Regions from separate parts of the Homo sapiens genome. Here region 2 is linked to region 1. The links are contacts of gene promoters, found by promoter capture Hi-C in human tissues and cell types (Jung and others, 2019). All regions are on one chromosome and are shown on one strand. Each heading gives the region's core, a stretch centred on a gene start or on the middle of the fragment in contact. The rest is flanking DNA. Distances are from core to core; before and after follow the strand shown. Region 1 holds the start of PTGS1 (prostaglandin-endoperoxide synthase 1). Region 2 holds the start of RC3H2 (ring finger and CCCH-type domains 2).

Region 1 (2,700 bases), core at 86-2,585:
GAGCACCCTCCGTCCTCTCTTTGGGTCCCCTAAATGCCACCCACCCAAAGCCCGTTTCAGGAAACTTGGTCTGATCCAAAATCCATGTACATATCTTTCCTCTTTCCCCCACGCACCAGATCCTTAGAGCATCACAGCAGAAAGTGCGGACTCCCTCTGCTCCCTCCTGCCCTCTCTGGGCCTCATTTTAGAGATTTTACACAGCTAGGTGGTGGAGGAAACTATATCCAACTGGGACACATGCTCACACACACGCACACACACAAGCAGCGAGCTGGGGGAGGAAGGTTGGCTGAGCGAGGAGCTGAATTCCTTCACCTGGAACCTGGCACATGCATGGGGGAGGGAAGGGCGGAATTTCCCCATCAACCTCCCCCATGAAACCCAGAGTGGCTCCGGGTCCATTGTGGGTAGAAGCAGCTTTCTGTGGAAAGACCTTGCGAAGTGTGTGGACGCAGACAGACCTGAGTTCAGATCCTGGGCCCACCATGTATTTTGTGAGCTTGGGGAATCATGGCACCTACTGAGCCTCGGTTTCCTCATTTGCTCAATGGGGATCTCTTAAACCCCAGATGAAGCATCCCGGCTCCTAAATGTATTTCCATCTCCCATGTTCTCCCGAAGTCTTCACCAGGGGAGACCTTCTCCACTGGCAATGGGAATCAGGATGGGTTCCCAGACGGTTAGAGGCTGGAGAAAGGGAACTCATTTCCCTTGGTGCCTGCGGCTTCCTCCCAAAGAGGCCCCTATAGGAAACAGCGGGGTTGTTGGGTGCAGAGGCTGCTTAGACATCTGGGGCCCAGAACAGGTGAGGGGGATGGATAGGGACTGTCCCTTCTCCCCAAGTTGGCACCAGATCCCAGTCTGCTGTTTCCCCTGAAAGAACTAGATAGCCCATTAGCCAAGGCCACACCGCCGGGGGGGCTTCAGGGAGCCCCCATCCCACCAAAAGACTCAGCCTCAGTCTTTCTCAGCACCGCGAGCAGAAAGGGGAAGCTGGGCCCGCTGGAGGGGAAAGGAGGGGGTTGAAACCAGGCCAGGGGCGCAAGACCGGGGATTCCCTTGGGGAGGGATGGGGCCGCCTACCTGGCGTGGGCGCCCCTGGGTCCGCGAGCAGGACGGGGAGCGGCGGGAGCAGGAGCAGGAACAGCAAGAACCAGAGCAAGAGACTCCCTGCAGAGGAGAGAGATGAGGGGCTGAGCCTGGCATTCAAGGCTCCACCAGGAGGCCAAGAAAATTCCCCACCGGGCACCGGGGTCGCACTCACGGCTCATGGCGCGGCTGCTGGGGTGCGGGACGCAGAGTGCAGGCTCCTGTGCGTGCGCCTCGCACACTGCCCGGAGCTCCAGCCCATCCCCTCCCCACCCTTCCCCCGGCTCCACCCCCGCTCCTCCCTCCAGCTGTCACCTCGGCTGCCCGCTTACTTCCTCTGCCCAGCCCCGGCCAAGGCATTTTATTAATTAGTGTATGCTCGCCGCTAAAGCGGCTTTTCACCCAAGATCCTTGAAGCACTTACGTTTCTGATGCCTGGTGGCACTAGATATAGACAGGAAACTGAGGCTCAGAGACGATGCTCAATGCTGAGGTCACCCAGGGCTTAGGGACAGAACTGGGGATGGAAGCGGCTCGTCTGAACCACATACCCTGCCCCGCAGAGAAGAAAGGGTCTCAGAGTCCCCTTCTGTAAAATGGGTCTAACGCACTCTACAGAAAAGGGTAGAGAAGAAAAGGGGCTAGAAACAGGGCAGTCTGCAGAGAAGAAAGGGGGCTAGAAATGGGGCAGTCCAGCCTGGCCTGCTGATGGTTTCCTAGATGAGAAACTCACTACTCCTCAGACAGATCTAACAGGAAGGACTTACTTCCCCCATGGGCTGGGCTCCGCCCCCTGAAGCCACAGGTCTCTGCCAGAAATGAAAAGACCGGGCTCCAAACTCCAAGAGAGCCTAGTTCAAATCCAGACTCCACAGCTTACTGGCCGTGTCACCTTGGACAAGGTACTTATCTTTTCTAGCCCTCAGTATTCTCATCTATAAAATCGGCTTAATAGCAAAAACCATCCCAGAGGGTGGTTGTAAGATTCAATGAGGGAATGCACACAAATCTCCTGGTGCAGTGTCCAGCATGTAGTAGGTGCTCAGTTATCGGAAGGCATTTTTTCAAAGATCTCTGAACTCAGATTCCAGGGCTGGCCAGGGTCCATGCTGTAGCTAGACTCACATCCACCGCCGAATTTATAGAATCCCAGCATCCAGCTCTCCTTTTCGCCAGCTCAGGAAGCACCTAGAAGGAGGAAGGAATAGGTCCAAGATCACCCAAAGTCCCATGGTGCTGGCACCCACAAGTCATCTCCCTCAGTTTCCCCAGCACACCCAGCCATCCTGTGGGCCCCACAGTGGGGAAAGCCGGCAGGAGAGCTCAGAGGTTCTTGTGCTGGCTCCTGGGCATCACTGGGTGCAGGGTAGAAATTATGCCAGGTGGGAGAGGTGAAACCTGCTGGGAAGCCCCTCCCCCATTCTCACCCAAGCTGTTCCCATGCTCCCCTGGGACAAAAGCCAGCTGCCCTAGGGAGACAGAGCAAGCCAGGGCAGACCTGGAGAAGGAGTGGGGCATTGGAGGGCCCTGGGGCTCTCAGGGTGCCGGGACCGGCTTCAGCCTTCCCTTCCTCCCCAAATCAAGGGCCCCCTAGCATTTACAGGGCAA
Region 2 (2,700 bases), core at 194-2,693, 530 kb before region 1:
AGAACGAAAAAGATAATGTGTGGAAGAAACGTCTTCGATGTGGCCAATGAATCTTTTTTCAAAAACACTGATTTTTGCCTGTCATTCAGACAAATATAATAGGTAATAACTATATATTTTGTTAAAACTGTAGAAGCAACCTTTCCATATTCTAATTTATCGTAGGTTTACTTCGATATTTTTGTTGTTGGGCATCTGATTTCACATTGGAAAGTGCCTTGAGTTTAATTACAAGTCATGGTCATTTTTTTTCTTCTTTTTTTTGTTGAGACGGAGTCTGGCACTGCCCCCCCGCCTGGCTGTAGTGCAATGGCGCGGTCTCGGCTCACTGCAACCTCCGTCTCCCGGGTTCAAGTGATTCTCCTGCCTCAGCCCCCCGAGTAGCTGGGATTACAGGTGCCCGCCACCACACCCGGCTAATTTTTGTATTTTTAGTAGAGCCAGGGTTTCACTATGTTGGCCAGACTGGTCTCTAACTTCTGACCTGGCGGTCCACCCGCTTCGGCCTCCCAAAGTGCTGGTATTACAGGCATCAGCCACCGCGCCCGGCGTCATGGTCATTTTCTAGCCTACATTCTTTAGTTTCTCATCAGTAACAAGGGGTACATTGTATCTGTCTTCTAGGATCACTTTGCTAATTAAATGAAATGTAAATAAAACTAAAATATTTAAAATTAAATATCACCTAACACAGGACCTGCCTGACACATACTAAGTAGTTTATAAATGTTAATTCTGATATCCCTATTCCAAGTCTGTTTCATCTATAAATTATAAACTGTAAGAATAATTCTTACCTTAGTTCGCTGTGTAAAAAGCTTCAACAAATATTTGAGATATGATGCCAGAATTTGTGCTTAAATTTTTTATTTTTGCCAGCTTTTGAGGAGCTCAGAGCTTTCTTCCCCCCCTCCCCCCCCCACTTTGGACTCTTTGTCTAGAAACAGAGTTTTCTCTTTAATAAAGAAGTGAGATGTGGAAGTGCCTGCCAAATACATGTTTTCTTCTTGTTTTTGTAATGGGGAGATTACTTGACATCTTTGTAAAGGGATTGAGGGATCCTGTCGGCATGTCATCACAGGAGTGTGAAGAAGAATGTGACACAGATGTATCAGATTCTGCTCAATGGATTCCACGCTTTTCACGAAGGGAGTTAAGACACTCGCTCAAACCAGCGTCTAGGAAGCCGGCTCAAGGCGCAGATGAATGTGCAGGGAATTTCCCATCAATCCCTTCGGCTTGCCTAGTCCTTCTCACAGTACCTCCCACAGTGCTCCGGGGCTCCCTTGTCACGTGATCGGGGTGGATCCGCTGAGGCAGAGGGAAGTTGATTCGCAGTTTGGGTGGCTGGGGCTACTACGCTTTCCTTCCAACTCCCGACTCCCGGGCTTGCGTAATCTCGCGTTAAGTGGGGAGTAACTTCTCGCGAGAGCTAGATCGGGATCCCTCCAGGTCCGCCTCCGTGGTGAGGAGGAGGAGGAGGAGGAGGCGGAGGTGGAGGGAGGAGGAGGAGGCCCCGTCGCGGCCTTCGCCGCCGCCAACGGGGCTGTCCCTGTAGCTCCCGATGGAGTTTGAGGTCGTGAAACCTCCGCCGAGCTCTGCCCCGGCGAGACGAGGCGCCTCCGTCGCCAAGCCGCGCCGTCGCGGGGCTCCCGGGAGCGGCCCTTAGCGACCCCGCCCGGGCCCCCTCAGGTAGGGCGGGGGCGGGCACGATGCGGCTCGGGCCCCAGCCCGGGTGCCTGGTCCCCGGCGGTCGGGCGGGAGACCAGTCTCAGCCCTGGGGCCTGTGCGCTGTCGCCCCTGGTGCCTCGAGGGTTGGGAACTGAGGGCCGCACCTGACACTCGGATGGAACCCGGGCCCTGCGGAGGCCCCTCTCTCTGGTAGGGCTTTTTCGATGCGGAGCGACCGGCTCAAATGGCCACCTTCCTTCGACACTGGCCGAGCGGACGCCTCTGACCCCTAACGAACCCACCCAAGCAAAGGCCCGGCTTCACTCTCCCTTTTCTACACCAGTTAGTAAGGGGGTTTGGAAGAGGTCCTCGAAACCAAGTCTTCTCCTAGCTTTTCAGCTTTCTGCCCTGGGGCTTCCCGAGACCCTAGCGTAGAGGGTGGTGGAGGCGATCTGAGTGGTAAATAGGAACCCCGGCCAAACAATGCCCTGGGAGGGCTTAACCTCCCAGGATGGGGACGGCCGGACCTGAGTGGTTGCACAGGGGTTGTGGCTAGGAGCAATGGCATGAAACACAGCCAGGAAATTCTGCTATGGCTTTCTTCTTTCCCTCTCTCATTTTTCCTTTTTGGTGTAGCCTCTTGAGGAGACTCTTCCACCATCTTAGAAGAATGGTAGAAAGCATCTTTGTTTCCCAGAGAAGCAGCTGTACTTTTTTCTATCCTTAGCTTTCAGGATGGGAGAAGATGAGGGTAGCTGTCATTTCCATCCTTCAAATCCCAAGGCAGCCGTTTAAGATACCGGCAGATAAATCCTTCACACCAAAATTGACTCAAGTAATCACTGGCATAAAGTAAATCTAATCCAGTGATTTATTTATATTTTCATAACCCTTGGGTTCCCTTTTTAATTCCTCCTCTCCCCTTACCCACGGCCTTCCTTTTTTTCATTTCTACTCTCCCCCTACCCATTGTGGGTGGGTGAGTTTGTATCCCAAATAAAGTGCTTTAAGTAATCTTTTTTCCAATTT

Evidence for each region. The method cuts DNA at HindIII sites, captures the fragments that hold promoters and counts their contacts. A contact is called where the count stands out against the background at its distance.
Region 2: a contact is called between the fragment with the promoter of RC3H2 here and the fragment with the promoter of PTGS1 in region 1, in 1 of the 25 tissues and cell types used here (heart left ventricle).

Annotation. Positions count from the first base shown.
Region 1 is chr9:122,369,659-122,372,358 of GRCh38, reverse strand. PTGS1 (prostaglandin-endoperoxide synthase 1) reads right to left here and starts at 1,335. Exons shown (of 11, transcript NM_000962.4): 1 at 1,268-1,335; 2 at 1,087-1,173. The coding sequence starts at 1,274. The HindIII fragment of the contact is 15,948 bases long and covers 1-2,700 here.
Region 2 is chr9:122,904,102-122,906,801 of GRCh38, reverse strand. RC3H2 (ring finger and CCCH-type domains 2) reads left to right here and starts at 1,443. Exons shown (of 21, transcript NM_001100588.3): 1 at 1,443-1,692. RefSeq lists a silencer at 1,339-1,988. The HindIII fragment of the contact is 5,285 bases long and covers 1-2,700 here.